Linked DNA regions of Homo sapiens: region 1 is linked to region 2. Evidence: promoter capture Hi-C in human tissues and cell types (Jung and others, 2019). All regions are on one chromosome and are shown on one strand. Each heading gives the region's core, a stretch centred on a gene start or on the middle of the fragment in contact. The rest is flanking DNA. Distances are from core to core; before and after follow the strand shown. Region 1 overlaps POU2AF2 (POU class 2 homeobox associating factor 2). Region 2 holds the start of LAYN (layilin).

Region 1 (7,041 bases), core at 3,965-6,464, 260 kb before region 2:
TTTAATCTTCATGTGCCCAAGATCCCACAGCTAATAAGAGGTAGAGCTGGGATTCAAATGTAGTCACTCTGGTTCCAGAGGCTTTACTCTTAATTACCATGCTGCTTCTGAGTTGTTGGAAGATATTTTGCCTGGAGAAGTTCGAACTCGAGGTTGATATTACAGATTGCAATTGCACGTTTGCATTCCCCTAAAATTCAAATGTTGAGGTGCTAATCCCCTGTGTGATGGCATTTGGAGAAGGGGCCTTTGGGAGGTAATTAGATCTTGCAGGTGAATCCCTCTAATGGGATTAGTGTCCTTATAAGAAGAGACACCAGAGAGATGATCTCTCTCTCTGTCTCTCTCTCTCTCTCTCTCTCTCTCTCTCTCAGCCATGTGAACACACAGTGAGAAGCCAGCTTTCTGCAAACCAGAAAGAGGGCCCGCACTAAAAACCACACCTAGATCTCAGACTTCCAGTCTCCTGAACTGTGAGAAATAAATTTTTGTTATTTAAGCCATGCAGTCTATGGTATTTTTCATAGGCTTGTCTTCAGATATTTGAAGGGCTGTGTATGCAAGAAGTGTTAAACTTATTCTATAAAGACCAAAGGGATTAGAACTAGAAAGTTATTCTTTCCAGCCAACTTTGTAATTGGTAAAAGTTCCTAAAGAAGAAATGGGTTTCCTCAGAGGGTGCTAAGTTCTGTGTGCCTGGATATTAGATGCACCTGGTGTTAGTAATATGGAGAGAATGTAATCATTGAATGAGACTCTATAAAATTTCTTCCAACTCTTGAGAGTCTATAGAATCATTAAAGTCACTGCAAAAGAGCTCGGATTCAATGAACTGGATGTTGAGGATTCTTAACTTCCACAGAAGCTACACCCTCTCCACTTACTTTGCTCCAGGACATCTCGGAGCCATGATTTGCGTATTTTAAGACTCTACACGCCTAGATACTCTTCCTTCAGAGGTCAGCTTAGGCACTGCATCCTGCAAGATGTGTCTCCCACCCCATTCTTGACACCAGTTTAGGTGCCCGCATCACCCCATCTTTCCCTGACCCTGCCACTTCTCATACTACACCGAATATTCTGTTTTGTCATCAATCACCCCTGTATTGGTGTCTTAGGGCTGCAGTAACAAGTTACCACAAATGGGATGACTTACAGCAACAGAAATGTATCATCTCATAGATAGCTCTAGAGGCTAGAAGTCCAAAATCAAGGTGTCAGCAGGGCCATGCTCCCTCTGGAGCCTCTGGGGAGAATCCTTCCTTGCCTCTTCCTAGCTGGCAGTTGTCACTGGTGATCCTCGATGTTCCTTGGCTTGAGGTTGTATCACTCAAACTGCTGCCTTTGTCTTCACATGACCTTGTCCCATCTGCATCTGTGTCTTTGTGCGTCCCTCTCCTCTTCCTATTAGGACATCAGTCACATGAGATTTAGGACCCACCCTAATTTAATATGACCTCATCTTAATTTAAGTAGTTACATCTTTAACAGCCCTATTAGCAAATACCGTCACATTCACAGGTATCAGGGATTAAGGTATCAATATAACTTTGGGTGGCTTATGCCTGAAATTCCAGCAATTTGGGAGGCCGAAACAGGTAGATCACCTGAGGTCAGGAGTTCGAGACCAGCCTGGCCAACACAGTGAAACCCATCTCTACTAAAAATGCAAAAAGTAGCCAGGTGTGGTGGTGCGTGCCTGTAATCCCAGCTACTCAGGAGACTGAGGCAGGAGAATCACTTGAATCCGGGAGGTGGAAGTTGCAGTGAGCCGAGATCGTGCCATTGCACTATAGCCTGGGTGAGAGAGTGAGACTCCATCTCAAAAAAAAAAAAAAAAAATATATATATATATATATATATATCTTTTGGAGGGGGCACATAATGCAACCCACCACATTCCCCAACCTCTCCCTGCTCTCTAGCCTGTGGGTTCTTTGAAGATTGTGTCTTCATTCCACATATTTTTCTTACGTCTATTATGAACTACACCCTGTTCTAGGCACTGAGGGCACATCACAGTCAAGGTCCCTACAGTTGGTGGAGCTTCTTCCTCCACATGGATTCAGACAGTAAACATTGAAGTGGCCCTTCAGTGCTGAAGCCAAACACTAAGTGCATGTATGCACATACACACATACAGTAGGCGCCCCTTAGCCATGGTTTCCCTTTCTGAGGTTTCAGCTACTCATGGTTAACTGCAGTCTGAACATACTAAATGCGAAATTCCAGAAATAAACAATTTCTAGATCTTAAATGGCATGCCTTTCTCAGTGGTGTGATGAAATTTCATTCAGTCCCACTCTGTGCTGCCCAGGACTTGAATCTTACCTTTGTCCAGCCAATCCACACTGTCTACACCACCTGCCCGTTAGTGTCTCAGTAGCCGACTCAGTGATTGGATCACCTGTCTCTGTATGGCAGTGCTTGTGTTCAAGTCACCCTTATTGTATTTCACAATGGCCCGAAAGCACAAGAGTAGTGACACTGGCAATTTAGATATGCCAAAGAGAAGCCGGAATGTGCTTCCTTTAAATGAAAAAGTAAACGTTCTCAACTTAATAAGGAAAGAAAAAAAATGTATGCTGAGGTCAGACATTGGTATGGTAAGAACAAATCTTTTGTCTGTGAAATTGTGAAGAAGGCGAAAGAAATTCATGCGAGTTTTGCTGTTGCACCTCGAACTGCAAAACTGTGGCCACAATGCATGATAAATTCTTAGCTAAGATGGAAAAGGCATTGAGTTTGTGGGTGGAGGACATGATGGCAATCAGGTGTGGTGCTATCCTCAGTTTTAGGAACCCACTGGGGAGTCTTGGAACATATCCCTCGTGGGTAAGGGGAGGCTACTGGATATGCGTATATATAGTCACTTAATATATATTGGATGAGGGAATGTTAACTGGAACAGTAGAAGATGAAGGATAAATTACTACATTTCATCCAGCCAGTGCTTTCTGGCATGTTTATCAAAATGTAAAAGTGTGGTTGCTCTTTGTCCCTTGTAAAACTTTGTTCTATGGTACTTGAATTCTTATTCTCAGTTGACCTGAGGGTCAACCCAACTCCCCAGATAATACTTCTGAATATCATAAAACCAAGCTTATAAGGTGTATTCCTAATTTTTATTAAATTCAAACTTACAACTAAAGAAAACACTTGAATTCTGTTTACCTTCCAGGGCAGCGTCAGTTCCTCTCAGTCTCCATTTGTGCAGATGCCAGGTGAGTACTTTAATTCAATAAGCAATTATTCCCTTTTGAATTTAAATCAAGCATCTGGGCTTCCATTCTTTCATAACGACCTTACAACACTTCCAAAACTCTGCTCCTTTAAAATAGTTTTGTCTAAAATACAAAATCAGCGAAGGACAGAACTCATGCAGTAATTTCTGAATTTAAAATTCATTTTGTCTTGAAAGCAGCCCTTTTATCCCAAGCTTTTGGGGCAAAGGCAATATAAATTATGCCCTTGATACAGTTTTAAATTGTCTAAAGTTCTGACACCATGATCTGATAGATGAGGCATCTGCTTTCAAACAGAAAGGGGAAAGCCGTCTGCGAGCAGAGGGAGTCAGGCATTTGGTTCAGTATTTTGAATTCATTTCAATGCCTATGTCTCATTAAATACTCCTGTGGGGATGTAAAAGGGGAATTCCTAATAATACTGTTGGACATTCTTGTATAAACACACACCACACAGGCAAAGACAATCTCATTTAGTTCAACTCAGACGCGGCACATTCCCTAATAGTTTTATCACCTTCAGAGCTGGATAAGGGAAAGGAATAAGAGCAATCGAGGATCCCGAATATTTAAATGTCTGTATGTTGTTTCCCAATCATATATAGTGCCATTGAAATTTGGTGGCATCTCCTGCCTTCTACAGAAAAAAAAAAGAAAAATTTCCATAGCTTCTCTTTATCTAGAAATTATCCTTTCTCTTTGTACAGAGAAAATCCATGCTAAGAGAGCAGAGGCTTTTTTCTTCGTGGTTGTTTTGATTTGGAAATTGGGAGTATAGATGAGAGCCTGGAAACCTTGTTTTCATATTCTCAACCTTAACCGCTCTCATAAATATAATTTCATTGTATGAAACAGAACCTTATTTATTTATATTAAGGTTCAGCTGCACAGATTTTTTCCCAAGGAAGTATGCTTATAATGAAAACCCTAACTTCAGCTTTCAAATGCATGAGCAGGTTAGAAGTTATAGAATGTAAGATGAAAGTGAAGTGAGTGGAGTCGTGCCACAGGTTTTGATGGGGAATTTTGATTTCTTCTTCTGGATGAATAAATTCACATGCCATTCTTGAACACAATGTTATACTACTAGGTTTAAAGAAAATGTATAAGGCATGAGATCTGCCCCCTTGGGCTCGCAGGTTGACTGGAAAGATCATTGTGACTCAGGTGAAAGAGGAATGAGCATAATATAAAGTGCCACATCCTGTGGAACGGGCTGGAATTCTGTGTCTATAGAATCAGAAGCTCAGAAGTGGTCTGCTGCTGTGGTTGGGGTAAGGTAAGGAAGACAGGCACTTATATCTTCTCCCCAGTTCAGCCTTTTTGTGACCTATGACCTAAGGGTGTTGGTGTTAGCATTAGATCACACCCAAGGCCAGCTGGAACAATTAAACCATCAGTTTTATAGACCTCAAGTCTATGCCCTCAAACATGTTCTGAATGATCAGTGTTTTCTGCTACAACTGAGCTACGGGGTCAGAAAGTGTTGAGCAAACACACCTTTTTCCTTGGAAACCATTTCACTGCTGGGCTTACCTTAAATGAAGCTCTTATCAGTTTCTGTCCCTCCCTCTCTCCACCAAGGAAAACTTTTTACTTTTTTTTTTTTTTTTTTTGAGACGGACTCTTGCTCTGGGCGAGATCTCAGCTCACTGCAACCTCCACCTCCCGGGTTCAAGTAATTCTCCTGCCTCAGCCTCCTGAGTAACTGGGACTACAGCAGCTGTGATTACAGGCATGGTGGCCCAGCTGATTTTTGTATTGTTTTTAGTAGAGATGGGTTTTCACCATGTTGGCCAGGATGGTCTCAATCTCTTGACCTCGTGATCCGCCAGCCTGGGCCTCCCAAAGTGCTGGGATTACAGGTGTGAGCCACCGAGCCTGCACCACCAAGGGAAACTTTATGTAGCCGGCACTGTCTTCCTAAACGTGCTGGGCCCTGGTGAGTTGAGTGAAGGAGTCCATGAGGCCACAAGAGGGCAGCAAATAACATAAAACTCATCAAAACCCTAAAACTACAGGCCTCTAAAATTGGCTTCTGTGTGGCCATCTAATCCTAAAGAAAGTCATTTATTGATGTCTGCCAGGCGTGCGACCCAGTGTAAGGTCAATGTGTGAAGAATTAGAAGGCAGAGTACAGCCTGCCTCTTTGAGGTGGGGTTATATGTGTTACCTTATCCAGACATAGCGATCTCAGATAACAGGCCAGGAGCACCTCTTGTTAACAGTTCTATGTATATGGAGAGGTAGCTCCGATGTTGTGAAAAAGATGCTTCCTTGGTTAAAATATGAATGCCAAGAGATTATTTCATTTATGTCTTCCTAGCACAGCGCCGGTCACCGGGAAGGTACTCAGTAAATGTGAATGAATGAACAGACACGGTACTGTCTAAAATGAACTCACCCCTAAAGGCGACAATGTTTTCAAACGTTAGTTATTTGGGCTAATGCAGGAATATTTCACGCTTTTCAAGACATTTCTCTATTTCCATGTTAGCGTTGGAGTCAGGCACGCGTTAGTAACATCGTTTCCCAGGCAGAGACTCAGCTGCAACCGAGGCCTTGACCGCCCTGGGAGGAATTTTCTGCCCATGTGTTTTTCATTTGGCAACAGGTTCGCCGGTCACGTCAGGTTACTACGGTGTCAGAAGATCTTTCTTATCTGACTCAGACTTCCACAACAGTAAACAGTTTTCAAATGACGTCTACACCTCCAGCGTGGGGAAGCCGTTTCCCTGTGAGTCCTCCGCAGGGCAGAGCCATGCGGCTCTCCTGGAGCCCTACTTCCCCCAGGAGCCCTACGGAGACTACCGGCCTCCGGCGCTGACGCCCAACGCGGGCTCTCTGTTCAGCGCCTCGCCCCTACCGCCGCTCCTGCCACCGCCCTTCCCCGGAGACCCAGCTCACTTCCTATTTGTGAGTATGCAGAGACCTCGTGTGAGGGAGTAAAAGAGGGGCGAGGCTCGCCCTCTGGCCAGCCGCTGTGCTTGGCATCCGGGTTGAAGCCAGGTCTGGCTCACCCTGTAGACTCCAGAGGCTGCTTTGCAGCTGCCTAGAGATGCCAGGACACCCTCCGAGGGAGCCTTGTTCAAGGATCCCTGTTAGCCATGACAGCCAGGAGCGTCTACGCAGGGCTTGGAACCGGGAGGAATGTGCAGCAGGATTTATATCCATTTTGTTAATGCTCTACTGATATTGCCTGATGTTCCCCCACCCTGTTAGTGCCAGTCGTCATCATTCCTGCAGCCCCTAAGGAAGGAACACTGAAGCTGCATCTCAGACATGCTAGGCAGTAATGAGATGGATCATAATCTCCCAAGGAGGGTACATAGGGCTCCTCTTTCTTTCCAAGTCCCCTGCCTCCCCTTCCCCACATTTTTAGCCTAAAAATCCTTGTTCTCTCTCAATCCTTCCAAACAGGTGAGTTCATAAAGATCTGAAGATTGCTAATGCTCATAGAGAATAGTAAAGGTTTCTACCACAAAGTAATGAAGCTCTAAAGACAGGAGTTTAGACAAAAGGGAGAGGATGAGAATTCACATTATTAAGTATACTCTATGCCAGGAAATGTGATGTGTTCATTCAATACTTGCAACAACTCAGGATATATTTATGAAAGTCCCATTTTACAGATGAGCAATGTCGGGCTCAGAGTCAGGAGGAGCCACGAATGAATCCAAATCTTTCTAGCTCCAAACTTACGGGATTCCTACCTCTTTCCTCCTGCTTTAATGAGGACAGAGTGGGCTTCTCAGTCCCCTCAAAAATTCACCATGGAGTTGAAGGCCTACTCCGA
Region 2 (6,964 bases), core at 2,488-4,987:
AGTACTTGTGTTAAAATAAAGAAATAAAGGTTAAATATGCAGGCTTCTATGAATTCTACCAGCTATTGAATATTTGTGTCTATTTACTTACTGGGTACTACTGTTTGACACCACAACATACATCTCTTTCATCTTACCACATTCTCAAACTCCTATTTATCTTGTTTTCATTTGAAGGGTATTTCCAGAATTTCTATGCTAGATCTATATTATGAATATCAGGTAAGCAAGAAACAGGGGCTTTATGTGTCTTAACTTGTAGACCACCAGTAAAAACAATCAGGAAATAGGAATGAAAGGGCAGTTTTGAAAACTTCAAGTCTACTTGCTTTAATAAGAAAACCACTTAGCAAAATTTGGTTTGTTCCATTTCTGAAACATGTCTGAAGTCAGAAGTGAGTTGCTTCTACCTCTGTGAATAACTGGCTCCACGTGCCTATGTTTTACACACATACATAAACCCAGTGCCAACCCCCCTCACTTTCATTCCCTTTGCTATGTAATGGAAAAGAAAAGATTAAGGATTTGTCCCTTCTGCGCTGTCCAAATGGCAGTCCTACTCAGGGTTAGATGCTCTTCCCCATCCCTCCTTCGAGAGATCTTAGCATAATCCAGGCCCCCTTCTGTCAGAAAGAAAGAACTGGAAAGTGTGTTTATAGTAAAGCTTTAGTAGCAATATGTTTATTATCCACCCAGGAATATTTGCATTTTAAAAGAAGGCTGAATAAAGGGAACAATGGGTAATCCAAGGAAATCAGTTACCAATGATGAAATCTCAGGAGTCTGACTCTTGGGTAAGCAACATGTATTTAGGGTAAGAGGGTTACCCAGAGGTTGCAGCTCTATTTAGGACCACCATTTCCATCACTACTGGCCTCCACTTGGAACTCTTGGACATAGCTTTCATAAGACACAGCCCCCATCCACTGTGCCAACAGAAGACTGGGTGGCCCACTGGTCAGAGCGTAATCACAAGGACACATCAGGCTGCAAGGGAGGCTGGAAATTGTCTTTAGAAAATGGGGAGGGGGCTTCTGTCTAATTAAAATTCAGGGATTCTATAGCCAAAAGAAGTGGAGAATGGATATTAGGGGACAATGACAAGGTTCTGGCACAACGCTATTTGAAGAAAAATGTTCGGAACAAAAGGAAGGTAGTCAGGCCTAGGAAAGGAAAATTTTGAAAGTTATAAATTGGCAGCCCCATCCTAGCACCAGCAAGAATAAAAGGTATCCTGTCTGGTTGATGTATCTGTCTGCCTGGCAGGTAGGTCTTCGTTGTGAAGATGGACACAGCAGGCTATCAAAGCCTAAACTATTAAATCATATAACTAATTCCTTTCATTCTGATTCCATGCTGATAAATCTTTTTTGCCCAGAGGGAGAATATGTGTTCAACAGGCCAATGCAAGCATTAGTTTACCTGACAATTCTATTTCTCAATGTGTAAATATATTAGTCTCTTAGATTGGGTTTGAGCATGTTAAACTAGGAATTGGACCCTGGACCAGGGTAATTTTACCAAGAAAAATTCTACTTTGTGGACTTTCTTGGCAACCAGCCTTCCCCTAGTGATACCTCCCTACATTGCCAAGTGTAATGGTTAGCTATTGCTGCAACAATGCTGCATAACAAAGGGGTCTAAAACAACATTTATTACTGCTCACACATCTGCAGTTTTGTGTGATCTAGTTTGGCTGACCTAGGCTTAGCCAGAGAGCTCTGCTTCAAGCTACAGCACCTAGAGCAGCTCTGTCTCTTACTGCAAGTTTGTCAATTGCCTGAGGTAGCTCTGCTCCATTTGTCATCCTCTTAGGGATACACATAGACCAGTGGGATATCTAAGGTATGTTCCTCTCAGAGAGTGGCAGAGAAGAAAAAGAAATATGAGGCCTTTCTGGTCTAAGCTCAGAACTGACTCATTCTGTTAGCCAAACAAGTCAATCACATGGTCAAACACAAAGTCAAGGTGTGGGGAAATATACTCTGCCTCTTTAGAAAGAGAAACTACAAAGTCATATGGTAAAGGATATGGGTACAGGGAGGTGTGGAGAATTGGGGCCGTTATTGTAATCTACCAGGTTTGGTTGACTGTATACCCTAACAAAATCCATCTGAACCAAGGTCCAGGGTATCAAAGCGAGAAGTCGGGACACGATTTAATTATGTAACAGCTTTTTAAAGTTGTAGCAGATGTTATAATATTAGAAATAAATCCTTTTCAATTGACATTAAGTGCCTAGATATCTGAACATTTACATATATATTTGCCTTATCAAACACTCACTAAACTCTTAAGGCAACTGTTAATGTTACCAACAGTTAAGTGAAACTTAGGCAAACGGAATTGCCAAAGGCCACACAGACATTAAATGAAGAGCAGAATCTGAAACAGACCCTCAAATGCCAACTCCAGTGCTTCTTTTCACCATAACAGTTCTCTCAAGTTGTTTTGATAACCAAGAATTTCTAAGAAGAAAGTGTGTTAGATGTGACATTGACGTATTCTAACTGGGACAGAAGGAAGGTCTATAAATGATCTTGCCATAAAGGTCAGGCCTCATCCTGCCACAACCGCTGTTAGCTGTTACGTGCCGCAGCAGAGCTCCCCCATAGTCTCAGCTGATACTGAAATTCATCCCACTCCCCTCTCACCCCCAGCCTGTATTCAGGCTGTTTGTTTAGAATTGCAGTGGCTAGAGGCCTTAGAAGCATCACTGCTTTCTTGGCTGTTTTGAAAAGCAGAAAGAGTACGTAAGAAGCAGCAAGCTGGAACCAAAATCCAGAGGTCGTGGCCCAGATGGGGCTTCTGCTATGCTTCACAGCAGCATGGTGTGGCAGAAAAGGCAGAAAGTCAGATTCACCTTCTGCTACTTAGTGCCTTAATCTTTGGACAGATGGCTCACTCTATTGCTTGACTATATTTAAAAGCATTTTGTTTACGAAACCAAAGTGAAACACACCTACTTTGGGAGTTTACAAGAGGAAGCACACATTGAGGGCTAGGTTAGGAAAGCTTTTCCTGAGATAATAGTTTCATTCTTTCCTGCGGGGCGAGGGGCCAAAGCTGAACTCCCTAACTATGACCCCCACCTCCCAACCTGTTCCCTGCAAAAAACAGAATCATTTCCTTCCAGGGATCTGGGACATCTTTTGGCTTCTGGTAGAAGCCGCTTTCCTTTCAGTCGGGAGGGCTCCAACTCAGCCAAGTTCTTTGGATGCCATCCGCGCGGTGTCCCATAACTTTCCTGGCCGGTGGGCACACTGCCTGCGTGAGTGTTTGTTCTCTGCATCGACCATTCCCTGCTCAGGCGTCGCCCTTCGTGCTGGGACTGCGGCCTGCTGAGCCCCAGGTAGGAGTCCACGCATCGCCTCTCTCTCCAGGTGCACCCGCACAGCTGGCGAACTTGGCTAAGGTCAGCGGGAGAGGAGGGGTGAGATGTGGTGCTAGTTTTAGGCACACTGTGCTCGTTATCAGATTGCCTAGGGGCCCGACTGAAGTATTCCTCCGCCCAGCGCCTCGGGCAAACGCGGGATCTCCCAGGGAAGCTCGGAGGGGGACAGGGAGCTGGTTCCCCTCTGCGACTCGCCCCTCTCTGGCTGGCCGAGTGTCTGGCGCCAACCTCGCTGGAGGAGGCTGTCGGGGGCGGGCCAGCCAGCGGGGCTGCCCTCCTCGCAGTGACGTCCCAGGGGGCGGAGGGGCGACCGACTGACTCCGCGCCCTCCCCCCCGCCTCCCGTGCGGTCCGTCGGTGGCCTAGAGATGCTGCTGCCGCGGTTGCAGTTGTCGCGCACGCCTCTGCCCGCCAGCCCGCTCCACCGCCGTAGCGCCCGAGTGTCGGGGGGCGCACCCGAGTCGGGCCATGAGGCCGGGAACCGCGCTACAGGCCGTGCTGCTGGCCGTGCTGCTGGTGGGGCTGCGGGCCGCGACGGGTCGCCTGCTGAGTGGTGAGTGCGCGCGCTGGGGCGGGGGCTGGTGCCGGGGTGGGCTCACTGCACCCCAGCTGCTGCTGACCCTCTTCTGGGTCGCCACGTATGGGACTAGAAGGCCGTCCCATGCCCCACTCCCAGACGCAGCCCTTCGGAGTCTCTTGCGTTCTGGGGGCAGTCGCACGGCGTCTGAGACCCACGCCAGTTCCCGGAGCTGCGCAGTTCCCTGCGCGTCCTGGAACGCTCGAAGCCCGTTCCCAGTCCAGAGTTATGGGGGTGGGTTGGAGAATGTAGGAGAGGTGGGGCAGTGGGCAAACCTGCCCCAGTGGGTGCCCCTTCGGCCCGCTCCTTTACACGCATCGAATCAGTCCTTGGGACCACCCCCGCGGGGCAGGCTTGCCAGCTGGCCCCCGCCTACCGCCCGCTCCGGGAGGCGGCCGCAGAGACAGCGGGGTAGGGATGCTGGATCCCCGGTGCCGTGGGAACCCTGCCTGTTACTCCTCGTCTCTTCTGCGGGGTTGGATGGCTGGGTCGAGCGCCCGGTATGAGAGCGCTTAGAGATCGGGAAAGAACTCCAGTTAGTGTGGGACGAGCCCCACCTGACTCCGGGGAATGACTCTCTGCTTCCTTCCTCCTGTTGTGTCACTGCAGCCTCGGATTTGGACCTCAGAGGAGGTAAAGTGCTCTGGCTTCTGGCTTCTTTCAGTTGTTCTGCATGTCGGGGGGAGAACATCCGTGCCCTTTTCTCAGATCCTTTTTGCGGGTGCCAACAGCTTGACCAAACGGGACAGAGGAGACTGGGAACCTCCTCTACTCTGGCATCCTGGCTTGCGAAACTAATTTAAAGAATGTAAAGTTGGTTTCAGGATGGGGGCGGGGCGGCAAAAGAGGTGGGAAGCTGAATTGAGCTGCTTGGGTTAGGGCTGCGTGGGCTCTGTCCTTGGTCGCGGGGAACAGAAGGCCCTCCCACCCTTCGCCTTCCTGCAAATGAGAAGAGAAGGACACTTCCTGAAGGCAGGAGAACCAGATAGGCCCGCGGGCCTCCTTCCAGCTCTGACGGTCTCTGGCACTCACCCGCAGACTTCGGATGTGTGGCCAGGCTGGACCATACAGGAAACTCGCTTAAGGTGTTATGTTTCCCTTGACAATCCAACATGGAAAGTGGGGGTTGTCAGGAAATTCAACTCCAGCTTATGTTATGCCGGTGGCCAGGTTGGATAAGTTCCTGGGGGCTCATTTGCCCCTCCTCTGCTGCCCAATTTGGAGCCAGCTTTGAGGAATCGCAAAAGCGTGGCTGGCCCAGCCCCCTTCCCGGGGGTATCCCTGCCTCAGCCTCTCTGAATACCTTCTTGCAAGCAGGTCTGGCTTTTGAACCCTCCTAATGTGCTGCTGGACCAGTCTAATTAGAGTTTCTCTATTATCAGCAATAGCCAAATAATGACAGGAAAAGGGAGAAGATGTGGAACTCTTATAACTTGTTGCTCATTGAGAATTCCTTTATGAAAGTGATGAGAGAAGAAATAGAAAATGAAGACTCACTGGAGCTTTCTGGATAATCTGTATGTGCTCTTTCTCATTTAGCACTAATCATATAGTTCTATCTGTCTGTGGCCCCTTGCCCTATATGCTGGCCAGTGTTGGGAATTAATGAATGCTATCTGGCTCCCTGCGCAGCTGTAAAACAAGTTGGGAAAACAAGAACATTCCAGAAGTTCTGGGAGGAGGTTCCCAAACCAAAATATTTTACCCCCGGCACTGTGGCAGCAGTTCGCACCCACAGCCCACAATTTGGCTTTCTCTTTGCAGGGGGACTACTCCCCGTGTTGATACGTGGTTTTCACTTTGAACATTTGAATCCGGAAACATATGCTGTGTGCTCCTGTGGGTTAGGAAGTAGCTTTTGTTCCTGTATTCCCAGCACCTCGCACAGTGCCAGGCACAAAGTGTACACTCAATAAATGTTGATTGAATGAAAGGAGTGATGAGGCTAGTGTCTCCATTGCAGCAAGGCTTCAGTCACACAGACGCAAGCTAGAGCAGTGTGTACTGTGAGCGATTTGTTATTGGCTCCTCAGTAAAATCCCATCTGTTTGTCTGAGATGATCTTCAGCCCTTCAGGGGACAGACTGATAAGACACATTACATAGGCTCCCAGTAAAACATGAGCCTGGGGTGCAGCGGGGAGCTAGCAATTTAGTTCACTGGTACCAGCATGATTTTGTAATTAGATCTGGGCTCTAACTCCGGTGATGCTGATGATCACTGTGTGATCTTGGCCAAATTACTTAACTTCCCTGAGCTCCAGTTTTCTCATTTGTAAAATAAGCCATAAACAGTATCTGCATCAGGGGACTATTATGAGGGTTACATGAGATAAAGTATGTAAGTAAATGTTAAGCCCTTACCATAGTTTATGGCACATAGTAGGAGTTCAGTAAACCTTAACTGTTGTCTTTAGGTCAGAGGGCTGACTGTCAGTAGCAGAAAACCCCGTGGATCTGATGCTTTTAGCTTCTGCTTACACCAGAGACTGGGCAAATTCTCAGTCCTGCTGCACAGGCAGAGGGTTCCAGAATAGAGGAGCCCATGCCTGACTTCAGGAAGCCTCTCTTACCTTAAAGAACCACCAGAGACACCCCCTTTAAGCCACATTATCCCCTGAGACTCCCTAATGAAAGTGTTATTTGTGTGCCTTTCAGTGAAACCATAAATCTTCATCTACTTCTCTTCTAAAGGACAGTCAAAATAAAACATTTGCTTTTTAAGATTCTGTAATGGAACAAACAAAACATGATGTCCCTACACAATATAGGCATCAGAGTTTAAATCACTACATCTCCATGCTGGAAGGAGTATTAATTTGCTCTGAGAACCCCAACTGACATGATAACAGTCTACTGATGTGTAACCAAAATTCCTACCCAGGGATACCTTCCTTTGGATGCCTCCACGTATCCCTGCCCCGGTATACTTTTTGAGACACTGAAATAGATTGGCTTCTTTTTTCTCTAGGGCAGCCAGTCTGCCGGGGAGGGA

The links. Contacts are between HindIII fragments. The study calls those that stand out against the background at their distance.
Region 1: a contact is called between a fragment that was not itself captured here and the fragment with the promoter of LAYN in region 2, in 1 of the 25 tissues and cell types used here (IMR-90 fibroblasts).

What each region holds. Positions count from the first base shown.
Region 1 is chr11:111,278,217-111,285,257 of GRCh38, forward strand. POU2AF2 (POU class 2 homeobox associating factor 2) reads left to right here. Exons shown (of 5, transcript NM_198498.3): 3 at 3,182-3,224; 4 at 5,860-6,161. Among named protein-coding and RNA genes, the nearest start is that of POU2AF3, 17 kb to the right of the region's middle. The HindIII fragment of the contact is 8,270 bases long and covers 1,080-7,041 here.
Region 2 is chr11:111,536,983-111,543,946 of GRCh38, forward strand. It overlaps LAYN (layilin), which reads left to right and starts at 3,738. Exons shown (of 7, transcript NM_178834.5): 1 at 3,738-3,946; 2 at 6,941-6,964. The coding sequence starts at 3,862. It overlaps HOATZ (HOATZ cilia and flagella associated protein), which reads left to right. Exons shown (of 6, transcript NM_001100388.2): 6 at 1-61. RefSeq lists an enhancer at 2,841-3,520. The HindIII fragment of the contact is 9,472 bases long and covers 1,840-6,964 here.